Linked DNA regions of Homo sapiens: regions 1, 2, 3 and 4 are each linked to region 5. The links are contacts of gene promoters, found by promoter capture Hi-C in blood cells and fetal thymus (Javierre and others, 2016). All regions are on one chromosome and are shown on one strand. The core of a region is centred on a gene start or on the middle of the fragment in contact, and the rest is flanking DNA. Distances in the headings are between cores, read along the strand shown.

Region 1 (2,700 bases), core at 53-2,552, 1.3 Mb before region 5:
CCATTTCCTGTCACTTCCCTTGCTCAGTCTAGCTTTGCATTTAGAATGTCAAATTTATGACATCATATGTGATTCCATAGTAACAAACTGACTCTATGAATATGTGATTAACCTTTTCTTAAAAAACAAAAAATAAATGTTTCTTCATTTTGAGTGTATCTGCTCATAGCCATTGTCTTTGTTTTCAGAAATTGATGTCTAAACATTGTTCAAATGTTCAATATGTAGCAATATCAATATTACCACTTCCTTTTTAAATCTTTTTAAGCATTTCTCTGCCATTCATTATATTAATCCCATTTGTGACTGTCTGTTTCCTGGTACTGCCAAAATGAATGGCAAAGTCATTTGTGGATCCAATCATTTATCCATGTTCATTCTGCCAGACAGACTTTGGAGGGCTTTTCTCAGATCTAGAGACTATTTTTGACAGCTGGGATTTTGTTCCAGACATGGAGTTTAGACTTGAGTTTGAGTTTAGCTTTAATGTCTCATGTTTCTTTCAATGGCAAAACCTGTTGAGGAAGACACTGTCAAAGCCCCTTCCCCATGGCTAGACTCAGTGTAGAATGTTACCTTTGCTGCCCCATCCTTAACCCTTAACCCTGGGCTGCCCCATCCTTAACCCTTTAAACACTAAAGCTAAACTCAAACTCAAGTCTAAACTCCATGTCTAGAACAAAATCTCAGCTGTCAAAAATAGTTTCCAGATCTGAGGAAAGCCCCCCAAAGTCTGGGAGAGTGAACATGGATAAATGATTGGGTCCACAAATGAGTTTGTGATTCATTTTGGCAAGTAACAGGAAACATACAGTTACAAATAGAATTGATATTTGTAAAAAGTAGCCCCTAACTCTGGTTTACAGAATCTAAACATGTTCTCCATTTTAGTTTTCTCCTTTTATCTTCACCCAAGCTTTAGATAGGAGACATGTGCCATGCCAACCTGAGCTGGTGAAATCATCAAGGACTGAGGCAGGTTTCCAGCCTGTTTTCATGGGACAAGTTGATAGCTAAGGTTGAATATCGGAAGTTGTTGATGGTTTTAATTTAAGTTATCCAAGGAGTCTTTTAGTTAGTAAAACATTCAGGCTGTAGGTAAGAGTGCCTGGGTTTAAGTTATTTCATCTCTCCCCTACTCCCCACTGTACACCCAACCCCCAGCATTCTACCCAAAATTTGTACAGGGGTCATTTGTTTTTGCATGGTTATGATGTTATTGTGTAATATTTGTATAAGTTATGTAGACAATCAAAGTTGTAAGTGCTATACGTTTCAGAGTAACTTCAGAGAACCTTACCTTTTCTATTAAAATCACACCCCTAAGTACCAAGAGCATCTTTATTTTCTTAGTATGCTGTGTTTGGGGCCAGAGCAGCTAATGTGAATTTCATCTCATTGTAATTAGGTGTTTTATTTCTACTATTCAGGATTATAAACTCATTATGGCTTCTTAGCACTCCTTCGAGGGAGAGAGCAGAGGCTTCTGTTATAGGTTTCATGGGTAGGACTTCACTTAGGGAAGCCTGACATCCCAAATCTAGGGCTGTGGGCTGGAGTCCCTTCCTCCACAGTCTGGAAGCCTAGGCAAAAGCATGAACTGACCTGAGTCAGAGGTTTATGTGACTCACAGTTCTGCAGACTATACAGGAAGCATAGTGCTGGCATGTGCTTCTGGCGAGGCCTCAGGAAGCTTCCCAATCATGACAGAAGGCAAAGAAGGAGCAAATGTGTAACACGACAAGAGCAGGAGCAAGAGAGAAGGGAGGAGGTCCCAGATTCTTTTGAACAGTCAGATATCCTCGTAACTCATTACCATGGGAAGGCACAAAGCCATCCATTAGGGATTGACCTTCATGACCCAAACACCTCACACTAGGCCTCACCTCCAACATTGGGAGTCATCTTTTAACATAAGATTTGGAAGGGACAAATATCCAAGCCATGTAATGGGTTAAGCATGTTCTTGTCGCAAGACTTTTAAATTTGCTGCTCCATCTGCTGCAGCGGCCCATATATACACGTGCCTTAATTCCTTATTTTTTTAACTCTGCTCTCAAGCAGTCTCCTCAGAGAGGACTTCTCTGACTGTCACTAAAAATGATACCTCATTTCCTTCATCTTTTAACCCTTATGTCCCTTTATTTTCAATCATAACATTTATTTCAACCTGACTTTGTTTCACAAGAGTTTATTTGCTTATTGTCTTTTCTGGTCCCGCTGGAGCGAAAACTGCTTGTGAGAAGCGACCTATACATCTTTTCTACTGCTGCTTTCTTCTTGCCTAGAATAGTTACTAGGAGGTACTTCCATAAATATTTGTTGAATAAATACATGAATCTTTTAAGAAATGCGTTTACTTAACAGTGATAAGCAGGATACAGAATATTATGGTAACAGTAGTGGTGGAATTTTTTTTTTTTTTTGAGACAGAGTCTTGCTCTGTCACTCAGGCTGGAGTGCAATGGCAAGATCTCAGCTCACTGCAACCTCCACTTCCCAGGTTTAAGCGATTCTCCTGCCTCAGCCTCCCAAGTAGCTGGGATTTCAGGCATGTACCACCATGCCTGGCTAATTTTTGTATTTCTGATAGAGATGGGGTTTCACCATGTTGGTCAGGCTGGTCTCTAACTTCTGACCTCAGGTGATCCACCCGCCTTGGCCTTCCAAAGTACTGGGATTACAGGCATGAGCCACCGC
Region 2 (2,700 bases), core at 163-2,662, 1.4 Mb before region 5:
CTCATCTTGAATTGTAGCTTCCACAATTCCCATGTGTTGTGGGAGGGACCCGTGGGAGGTAATTGAATCATGTGGATGGGTCTTTCCTGTGCTGTTCTCATGGTAGTGAATAAGTCTCAAGAGATCTGGTGGGTTTATAAGGGGAAACCTCTTTTGCTTGTCTCTCATTTTCTCTCTTCCCTGCAGCCATGTAAGATATGCCTTTCACCTTCTGCTATGATTGTTAGGCCTCCCCAGCCACGTGGAACTGTGAGTCCATTAAACTTCTTTTTCTTTATAAATTGCCCAGCCTTGGGTACGTCTTTATCAGCAGCATGAAAATGGACTAATACACTAAGCAACGGATTTTTAATGCAGACAAAATAGCTTTCCATTGGAAGAAGATGCGATCTGAGGCTTTTATAGCTAGAGAGAAGTCAATGCATGGAAACAAAGCTTCAAAGGACAGTCTGACTCTCTTGTTTGGGGCTAATGCAGCTGGTGACTTTAAGTTGAAGTCAATGCACATTTACCATACTAAAAATTCTAGGGCCTGTAAGAATTATGTTTAATCTACTCTGCCTATGTGCTATAAGGGGAACAACAAGGTCTGGATGACAGCACATCTGTTTACAGCATGGTTTACTGAAATTTTAAGTCCACTGTTAAGACCTATTGCTTAGAAAAGATGCCTTTCAAAATATTACTGCTCATTGACAATGCACATAGTCACCCAAGAACTCTGATGGAGATGTATAAAACGATTAATGTTTTCATGTCTGCTGATACATCTAGTCTGCAGCCCATGGATTAAGGAGTAATTTTGACTTTAAAGTCTTATTATTTAAGAAATAACATTTCCTAGGGCTAAAGCTGCCACAGTTATTCCTCCGATGGATCTGGGCAAAATAAATTGACAATCTTCTGCGAAAGTATTAACCATTCTAGATGCCATTAAGAACATTCATAATTCAAAGGAGAAGGTCAAAATATCAACATTAACAGAAATTTGAAAAAATCTGAGTCCAACCCTCATGGATGACTTTGAGGGTTCAAACCTTCTTTGGAGGAAGTAAACACAGATGAGGTAAAAATCACAAGATAATTGGAAGTGGAGCCTAAAGATGTGAGTGAACTGCTGCAATCTCATGATAAAACTTAAAGACATAAGGAATTGTTTCTTAGGGATGAACAAAGAAAGTGGGTTTCTGGAGATGGACTCTACTCCTGGTGAAGAGGTTGTGAACATTTCTGAAATGAAAGCAAAGGATTTGGAATATTACATAAACTTAGTTGAGAAGGCAGCAATAGGGTTTGATAGGATTGACTTCAATTTTGAAGGAAGTTCTACTGTGGGTAAATACCACCACATGCTACAGATAAATATTTCATGGAAGGAACAGTCTTATCAATTTGGCAACCTGCATTGTTGTTGTATTTTCAGACATTGCTCCAGCCAACCCAGCCTTCAGCAACCACCACCCTGAAGTCAGCAGCCATCGAGGTGAGACCCTCCACCAGAAAAAATATAATGACTCACTGATGGCTCAGATAATTGTTAGAGGTTTTTGAGCAAAAAACGTATTTTTAAATTAAGGTATGTACATTGTTTTTTAGACATAATGGTCTTATACACCTAATAGACAACAGTATAGTATAAACATAACTTTTACACGCATGGAGAAACAAAAAAGTTTGTGTAACTCACTTTAATATTTGCTTTATTGTGGTGATCTGGAACAAAATCAGAAGTATCTCTGTGGTATTCCTGTATTCACTTAAATAGTAGAGTCGGATTTCTAGCTTTTTTGCCCTTAAAATGGACTCAAAGTTTAAAGTTACTTGCAAAGCACTAACTACAGACTCCTTTTATAATTTTGTATTTATTTTTAGTATTTGATAGTTGCTTTGAAACTTTAGTCAACAGTAAATTTTTAGTGACTTGCTTTCATTTAGTTTTTACAAAACTACTTTTCTACTTTTCATATAAATTCTTTGTACTCACATTTCATTGACTTGCAGTATGATTAATAATTTGTAATGTGATTATTAACCAGCACAGTTGACATATGCATGCACAAATTGGGTTGGGTTTTCTTTGTTGCCTCCTGCATGCCCAGAACTAGAATAATGCCCGGTTACATAATAGGTACTCAATAAATATTTGCTAAGTGAATAACAAATGGTACACAACTCACTCTTAAGTATATAATAGAACAAGAGGAAGCAGAAGGGCTGTTGTGTGCTAGAAGAAAGCCTATCAGCCTAGAGTTTCACATGCTATGTGCATTAGTTTTTTTTTTTTTTTTTAGAAAAAAAGAATGGAGAATCAGTTATTACAGCAAATCTCTTAGATGGTAGTTGCTTAAAAGTGCTTCCACTGCACTTTGATTACACATCTGGCTTAGCAAAAGCTTTTCCTTACTGTCTGCATAAAACTAAGCATTCCGTCTTAGTTTCCTCTAGGAATAAACTACCTTTCTCCATGTTAGCCTGTAACTAATTTAACTCCCCATCGCCCAGAGAAGGCTTGTGGAACATCTGAACCTGTCTGTGGGGGCCAAGCTCCTGAAGGGTGATTAGTAACATGTTCTCTCTTCAGTGTTCCATAGGACATTTGGAATCAATTAAATATTCAAATACAGAGTCCCTCAGATCTCTGGCCAGGCCCAGCAAGTTTGTCAGGGGGAGGGAGTTGAAGGCAGATAACTGCTCTTCCTC
Region 3 (2,700 bases), core at 14-2,513, 1.3 Mb before region 5:
ATAATCTGGCTACCTCCTGGATGCCACTCACCTCCTATTTTCCTTATTTCTCACTGCAAAGAATGTCTCTATCTAAAGATCTTGTTTCTGCTGGTTTCCTTTTGCTGGAAAGTCATATTCCTAGAGTCTCTTCAACTCTTTTCCATTTTATTCACTGTGCAGCCATACAGCTGGGTCTGCTCTCAGAGTGGGAGAGGATTTCTGGGCTCCCACATATTTCATTAGGATTGCTTTGGAAATGAGGGCGCTTAGATTCCCTGCTGCTCTTGTTTTATTTGGGACTGTGCAACAAGGATAGGGACAGGAAGAGGCCTGCAAAGGCAATTAACATGGAGCATATACAGCTAATTTTACAAGCCTGGCATCTCTTTAAGTGTCCTCCCTGGGAGTGTTTCCCTCTGAATTAGAAAGCTCTAGTCTTAGCTTGATGAACTGGTTTCTGGTAAATTCAGTTGTTCTAGCCCCTGCTGGAACTAGAGTGATGGATATTCAGAGCAGAGAATGTGGCTTTTAAAAATGACATCACGAATAGGGTTGCTAGATTGAGTAAATAAAAATACATGATAGCCAGTTAAATTTGGTACTTCAGATAAAAAATGGATAATTTCTTAGTACAAATATGTTCCAAATATTACATAGATCTTCTAAAAAATTGCAAAGGACACATTTATAATTTTAAAAATATTGATTATCTGAAATTCAAATGTGATTGGACATACTTTATTTTATCTGGCAACCCTAATCATGAATAATTAAAAGTTGATATTGCTGTGTTGTTCAAAGGCAATAATTTGATTACTAATTACGTTCACTGAAATCAATAGATATATTAGTTATTTGTCCTCTTTTTTAGGAGAATTGCATCAATAGAATAAAAATATGTATTTTATCTTTTATATTGTGGAAAAATGAGAATATTCATATAGACATAGATATTTGTTATCTATATGGTAATTTGCTATACATGTTTAGAACATTTGTTTTTATTTAATGCATGATTGAAGACTGATGCCTAAATATGAAATTCTTTATTTTATTAAACTAATATACATAATAAACATAGTAGATTGGGTAAGCTGGGGAATTTGATAAATAAAACTATTTCCTGATTATATAAATGATATATGTTTTTTATAGAACATTTAGAAAATACATAATAATATTTTAAAAATAAGCCTATAATGTTTTTTATCTGTTTTTTTTGTGGAAAAACTTTTAAAAATAGGTTGGGATTATGTCATAATGTAATTTTATTGCCTTTAGAAATTTATCATGACAACATGTATCCATTTTATTTCATTAAAAGCATTTATGAAACATTTTAATAAAGATATAATATTCTTTTTCCTTTTTGTTTTGTTTTGTATTTTCCTGTTCTAATGTTAAAATGAGGATATTGGTACATAATTGTTTGAATCACTGGGTATTTTCTTTGGATTTATTTCTGGAAGCGCAGTTACCTGATCGAAAGATCAAAGTATCTTTAAGACATGAGCTGCTTGTTGCCAGTCTTGTGGAAGCCTATGTACTCTATGCTTTATGTTTCCGTCTTCTGGCCACAGGGACCCCCCGCTAGTCTTTTTTGCCCTCCCTGCCTCTACTCACTTCTTCCCCTTGGGATAGATCTGACTTATCTGATGGATAAGATTGAAAGCAGGAAGTATGAGTTAATTCCTTCTAAATTCTGTTTCTTTCAGATCTAACTATCCATCAGAAGGCACTTTTGCCATGTGGTTAGCTTACCAGGGTAGACTCTGCCTGGCTGGGCATGCCTGCAGTTGTTCATTCTGCTAATGAGTATGTTGAAAATTGAAGACAATATTAAGGAGCTCATTGTGACTTCATTTAATTTATACCCTCCTATCTAGTGATTTTAAGTAATACATCTGATATCTGGTCTTTACCTTTCTGACATTCATGTTTAATTCTTAACTAGTTCCAAACTCAAATTATCTCAAGGTAAAACCGGCAATACAAGCTCACTGTCCAAGAATAGTTAGAAGGACTGGCATTTAGAAGACTAGCTAGAAGGACTGGCATTTAGAGACCAAATACCATGAGGAGAGTGAAATTTTGGGTACTGCCAGCATTGCCTTAAGGCATTACAGCTTTTGTTGTGTAGATCTTGCAGTCTTTGACCTTTCATCTTGGCAGTTTGGATGGTGTGTAATGAGGTTGTGCAGCTGGGATTGTTAATTAGCATGGGTCATACAAGTTTTGGTAAATATGAATTGTGTGGTCCTCTACGTCTTACTTTGATCTTATTTACAAAGGTATGGTTTGGGTGAGATGAAATTCCAGCTTGCTAGGAAAAGAGTCTCTCAGTTCCTGCTAAAGGTCATTTTAAAATCACTGTATAGGCTTTTAAAGTATTTTCTGATAAAAGCCTTTTTCCTCCTCTCTACAGGCGAATTTTTTAGTATGGACAGCAGGCCAAGAGTGAACACTTCAAAGATAGCTTTGGTCTGGGAGAAGTAGACAGCACCAGAAGACGAGTTTCATCAGCTCAATCCTGCAGAAGTCTAGAGACAAAACACATTTTGCATGAATTTTTCACTTCCCAGCTCTTTGCTTCGTCTTCTTAGTAGACACCATTTTTAGCACTCCTAACTCTGGTGCTCCATCTTAGATTTGTAGACAATTCTAATGTCTGAACTGTGAGAAAGAAATTTATGTGTTTCAACTTCATTCCCAGGGCAC
Region 4 (2,700 bases), core at 54-2,553, 1.3 Mb before region 5:
CACACTCTCTTTTAGGCTTTTCTCCATGGACTTCACTAGATGCTGATGACAAAGACTGCAGGCAGTGGGGTGATAGAATAAAGCCATCCTTGATGGTACAGGTGTGGAGGAGGGGAGCAGCTGCCACTGGGGGCAAAGACTAAAACTCCCCCTAGTTGCTTATACCCTCAGGAACAAAGAGCCTAGACTGCTAGAAGAGCTTCAAACACTGTTATCCTCCAGGGCATGAGTAAAGATCCACTGTTACAGAAGAAAACATTCTAACTTTGGGAGAATAAGAGACTATCAAGGATTGGTACCATTAGATATTGGCTATCACTGGGGCATGGCAAGATCCAGGATGTTCATCCCTAAGCCCTAGGAAGATAGAAGAAATAGCTGGGAAGGGGTAAGAATGAGGAGACCTTCTCTGCAGCAGACACACAGGGAAGGCCTGCTGCTGAAAGTCGACTAGAAATCTTGAGAAAAACCCTCTGGTAAGCCAGTTTGCACCCTAAGAACAAAGTTGATACCAGACAAACTTGGATCCTGTGGTGCCATGAAGATAACCATAGCAACCACAAAACCTAAAACAACTTTAATACCTGATTTGATTGATTCAATCTATCACAATAATTGCTAGTCCCACAGTAAAACAGAACAAAACAAAATGAACAATCTACTTTTAGGAGAAATTAAAAGAACTAGACTTAGTAATGACCCAAGTGTCACAAATATAACAGAGGGAATTGAAAATAACTGTGATTAATATCTTTAAATGTCTACTTTAAAGGTGGATACCATACATGAGTAGACTAGCAATTTTGGCAAAGAGATTGAAATGAAAAGAGTTGAATGGAACTATATAAAGAGTGCCTAATGGATGTGTCAGTAGACTCAACACAGCTGAAGAAATAATGAGTGAACTTGAAGACAGGTCAATAGAAATTGCCCAAACTGAAAAGAGAAAGAGAAAAAAAGAGTGGGGAAAAAAGAGCAGAGCATTGAAATGCTGTGGGACACACACACACACACACACACACACACACACACACACTCCCCTCTCATATTCAAACCAAAGGAAATATAGACAATTATGAAGGCAGCCAGACAAAAACAGACACATTACATACTAAGGACCAAAGATACAAAATTCATAACATTTGTCATCAAAATCTATACAAATGAGAAGACAATGGAAGAGCATCTTTAAAGTGCTGGGAGAAACACACAGTAAACCCAGAATACTACATTCAGTAAAAATAAAATATTGTTTTAAAAACTAAATAAGATTAAAACTTTTTAGGCAAAGAAAAACAGAGATTCAGTACCAGTAGATTTGTACGACATGAAATGTTAAACAAAACAAAATAAAACAAAAGATCTCCTGGCAGAAGGAATATGATAACAGAGAAAAACCTGATCTACACAAAGAAAGGAAGATCTCTGAAAATGATTAAAAGGAATTTGAATATGAAATACATATTTTTGCCTCATCCTTATTTACTAGACGGTATTTAATTGCCAAAAACAGAAATAGTAGTGGAAAAGAAAAATAAATGTTGCAGTCCCCAGGTCACTAAGCTAAAGGGAAAAGTCAAGCCTGTAACAGCTTAGAGACAACCTGCCTCCCATTCTATTCAAAGTCACCCCTATGCTCACTGAGATAACTACATATCTGATTGCCTCCTTTGGAGAGGCTAATCAGAAACTCAAACCCGCTTGGAGTCTTCCTACCTTTGCTTCAAGCTGTCCTGCCTTTCCAGACCGAACCAATGTTCATGTTACATATGTTGATTAATATCTCATATCTCCCTTAAATGAATAAAACCAAACTGTGCTCTGACCACCTTGGGCACATGTCGTCAGATCCTCCTGAGGCTGTGCCATGCATGCGTATCCTCAACCTTGTCAAAATAAACTTTCTAAATTAACTGAGACCTGTTTCAGATTTTTGAGGTTCACAGTAGCAAAGTATAGAGAGTTTATAGAATAGATAAAATAATATATGACAACTGTAGCACAAAACATGAGAGGCAGAGTTTGGCAGTTCGTTGTTGCAAGGTTCTTACAGTACATATGATGTTGTAGAGTATAACATTGACAATAGACTGTGATTACTTAAAGTTGTATATTGTAAACACTAGCGTAACTAATAAAAAATTTTAAATGAGTCATAAGCCAATAGTGGAGATAAAATGGAACGTAAAAACACACAATAAGTCTGTAAGTAAATAGGGGAAAAAAGAAAAGAAAAAGGGGACTAAGAACAGTTGGAACACAGAAAAAACATAGGAAGATAGTAGATTTTAATCCAACCAAAGCAATGATCACATTAAATTTAAATGTCCTAAAAACAGCAATTAAAACACAGGGATTGCCAGATTGTATAAAATAGCAGCACCAACTGTAATATCTATAAGAAAAATAAGTTAAATATAAACACAATTTAAATATAAAGACATAGATAAAAGTATAGAAAAATCATATCATACAAACATTAGCCCCCCCAAAAAAGCTGGAGTGATTATATGAGTATCAGATGAATATTACATAATGAAAAGATATTAATTAAGATTAAGACAATATAATAATCCTAAATATGTAGGCACCTAAAAACAGAGATTCAAAATACATGATACAAAACTGATAAAATTGAAAGGATAAATAGATAAATTCTCAAATATATTTGGAGATTTCAACATTGCCTTCTCAATAGTA
Region 5 (2,700 bases), core at 10-2,509:
CGTTATGTGCTTCCTGGTGAAAGTACACACACCCACCTAAAAAGTATTCTTGCCATGATATTGAATCTGAATTCAATTGGATCAAACCTCAAGGTTTAACCACCAATTCACAGCAATATGAGACAGATGACCACATTAAACGACAGAAGAGATTCAGTCAGCAAGTCCAAAACACGGAAATTCAAAGGACACAAGAATCGGTTTCCTCAACAAATAAAGAGGGGAAGGTGGAGAAGAGACTTAAAAAGACTTGATGTGTATCCTGACTTGAACTAACTGCGAAAAGGGAACCAAAGAACAAAACACCTTATTAGTCGATCAGAATGGTTCCAACACTGACGACTTGATATTAAGTAACTATGTGATGATGACATGGTGGTTCCTTCTGAAACATCCATGGATGAATACAATAGGTAAACTGATAATGCTTAAGCCAAGTGATAAACACCTAGACGTTCGTTATGCTCTCTTCCACATATTTAAACGTTTTTCACAAGTGAAAAACACCACCAAGAGCCTGCGCCGTGACACTGAGATGGGAGTCGCGGTACTGTGGCCCTACGCAGCCGTGACCCCTTCCCTTCCCAGGTCGCGGATTTCCCGCCAGCTAAAATCACGAGTGGAAAATTCCTATCTGTCCTAAGTCTCTGGGTGCGAATGAGGAACGTGGAAGGAGAGACGGCGGGGTGAGAGGCGGCGGCCCGCGCCCGAGGATCGCGCAGAGGGCTTGGTTCCCGGAAATCTCTCCGCACCGTCGCGGCAGCTGGCTCCTCACGGGTGGGCTTCTCCCCGCGTTCTCCGCCGCCCTCGTCCTAGGCCTCGCCTAGGCCTTTCTAGAAAGACGAACGTCCGCCCGCTCAGTCCTAGTGCTGGGTTATGACAAGCGCCGACCGTGAGCTCCAGAGGCAAAGATAGGAGCCCAAACAACCCCAACGTCGCCTCCACCCGGGGTCGCCGCGGCCCCAGGTCTCGCGATAGTTACCTCCCGGGACTCTCGTCGCTGGAGGCCGCGCAAGCGCACCGGCGAATGTAAGCGGAGTACAGTGCCTCGGCCTCCGCGTACTCTCCATTGTTGAAATGAGCCTGGGCGAGTGTTAGGGTTGCGTGGCTTTCTTGCCGCTGTCCTTCCATAGCAGCCAAGGCCTAGTTTTCGGTGTAGAATGGGGGTTGACCTCCGAGCGGTTAGAGGTGGCACCACAAAGCCACTTCCACACCCTGGAATCTACCTTGACAGCCAACCTTGGCGCTAGGTTTGTGCCTTATGGGGATCCGTCGTCTCGCGAGATAACGGTTCCGCTGCTGGCGGGGCGTTTGCAGTGGCCCTTGTGAACTATGTTTCTGCCGTTACCAGTGTTGGACCCGCCTTCCTCTTTTCCTAGAAAAGGCGCAGATGCGTGGTCGCAAACTGATTTCCAAGTCCGTTGTCTGATGCTGCGAGACACTATCCGTTTGTTACAGCGAATTGGGGGCCGATGACGCTGGAGGTGGAAGAAGCCGCGGTTCTGTTTCTTAATGGCGAATTAGCCTGCGGACGTCCTGTCATTCCCTTGCCTTTTAGCGTCCCAACTTAGCAAAACTCCGCGTTTAGGGTGTTCTGAGTAGGCTTTGTCTACCCTGAAACGCTTTGTGTCGACATTCCACCAGGTCTGTTCCACGGTCCAAACTTCTCTACCTTTTTTGACCCTCTAGAATTGTGTTACGATTAGTAGTATATTGTGTCGAGAGTCTGGGATCTTTGATGTTAGTTATATTCCCTGGCTGTTTATGCCAAAGGGAAATCCAAATAGTAATTTATTACGTACATTACGTATAATTCAAATTAAAATTTTGTAAGAACAGTTGCCAACCACGCTACCCTACATGCCTGCTGTGTATCTTCTCGGCGTCCCTCGATTCTGTTTTGCTTCCCAAAGTACTTGAGCCCTTTCCGTCATAAAAAGTAAAGATGAAAAATATATTTGGAGCATGATACTTACATGCGGAAGTCTTAACAGGACATAAATTGTGTGCTTTTGGCTGCTTTCATTAGATTTTTAATTTTTTCCTTTTACCACCACTGAAAAAAATACAAATACAGTGGATTAAGGTTAAATTAAAAAGCACTAGTAGAAATTAAAAGATTGCAAGACTACAAAAAAATAAACTGGCATTTCTGGTGTAAGCAAATGGACAGCTCAATAGAACAAAAGCCCAGAAACATACCTCAAATAGGCTGTATTTTGTAAAAGACATGTAACATATATGGGGAAAGGACAGATTATTCAAATGAGTGCTATTGGGAGGATTAGTTAACCATTTGGGGAAAAATACATTTAAGCATTTAAGCTCCCAATTGACATAATATTCATTCCAGGTGAATTAAAAGATTAAATAAATAAGATAAAAAGCTTTTTTTTTTCAGTTCCCATTTATTTTTGCCTCTTGGAGCAATGTCATCTTTTCAATATGAAAAAAACAAAACAAAAAACAAATCTGAAGTACAGGATAGAACAAAACCAAGTGTGTTGGGGGAAGCAACAGCAAAGGGAAGACAAGATGTTGCAAAAAAAAAAATGGAGGGGGGATTCCCCTCTCCTCTGGGGAATGACTCAAACACTGATGTGGCAGCGTACACTATTCTACATAAAGCCAGGGATGTTAATCCTTTTGGGGGATAAGAAAAAGTGGAGATGGCCAGGCTCTGTGGCTCATGCCTGTAAT

The links. The method cuts DNA at HindIII sites, captures the fragments that hold promoters and counts their contacts. A CHiCAGO score of 5 or more calls a contact.
Region 1: a contact is called between a fragment that was not itself captured here and the fragment with the promoter of TTC32 in region 5, in 3 of 17 cell types (naive CD8 T cells, non-activated CD4 T cells and total CD4 T cells). The highest score is 8.1, in naive CD8 T cells.
Region 2: a contact is called between a fragment that was not itself captured here and the fragment with the promoter of TTC32 in region 5, in 15 of 17 cell types (naive CD8 T cells, activated CD4 T cells, total CD8 T cells and 12 more). The highest score is 29.3, in naive CD8 T cells.
Region 3: a fragment that was not itself captured here is called in contact with the fragment with the promoter of TTC32 in region 5 in 1 of 17 cell types (activated CD4 T cells); the score reaches 6.3 in activated CD4 T cells.
Region 4: a fragment that was not itself captured here is called in contact with the fragment with the promoter of TTC32 in region 5 in 15 of 17 cell types (naive CD8 T cells, total CD4 T cells, total B cells and 12 more); the score reaches 34.2 in naive CD8 T cells.

What each region holds. Positions count from the first base shown.
Region 1 is chr2:18,589,523-18,592,222 of GRCh38, forward strand. All of the region lies in intron 2 of LOC105373456 (a long non-coding RNA gene), which reads left to right. It overlaps NT5C1B-RDH14 (NT5C1B-RDH14 readthrough), which reads right to left and starts at 47. Exons shown (of 11, transcript NM_001199104.2): 1 at 1-47. It overlaps NT5C1B (5'-nucleotidase, cytosolic IB), which reads right to left and starts at 47. Exons shown (of 9, transcript NM_033253.4): 1 at 1-47. The HindIII fragment of the contact is 777 bases long and covers 915-1,691 here.
Region 2 is chr2:18,549,231-18,551,930 of GRCh38, forward strand. No RefSeq gene overlaps it. Among named protein-coding and RNA genes, the nearest start is that of RDH14, 10 kb to the right of the region's middle. RefSeq lists an enhancer at 1,293-1,587. The HindIII fragment of the contact is 1,958 bases long and covers 434-2,391 here.
Region 3 is chr2:18,607,354-18,610,053 of GRCh38, forward strand. The region is part of intron 2 of LOC105373456 (a long non-coding RNA gene); the gene reads left to right. Among named protein-coding and RNA genes, the nearest start is that of NT5C1B-RDH14, 19 kb to the left of the region's middle. The HindIII fragment of the contact is 2,919 bases long and covers 1-2,700 here.
Region 4 is chr2:18,567,090-18,569,789 of GRCh38, forward strand. The region is part of intron 9 of NT5C1B-RDH14 (NT5C1B-RDH14 readthrough); the gene reads right to left. All of the region lies in intron 8 of NT5C1B (5'-nucleotidase, cytosolic IB), which reads right to left. All of the region lies in intron 2 of LOC105373456 (a long non-coding RNA gene), which reads left to right. Among named protein-coding and RNA genes, the nearest start is that of RDH14, 7.8 kb to the left of the region's middle. The HindIII fragment of the contact is 3,270 bases long and covers 1-2,700 here.
Region 5 is chr2:19,900,724-19,903,423 of GRCh38, forward strand. It overlaps TTC32 (tetratricopeptide repeat domain 32), which reads right to left and starts at 1,260. Exons shown (of 3, transcript NM_001008237.3): 1 at 983-1,260. The coding sequence starts at 1,131. RefSeq lists enhancers at 221-1,102, 353-542, 683-742, 823-922, 1,103-1,983 and 1 more. The HindIII fragment of the contact is 3,134 bases long and covers 1-2,385 here.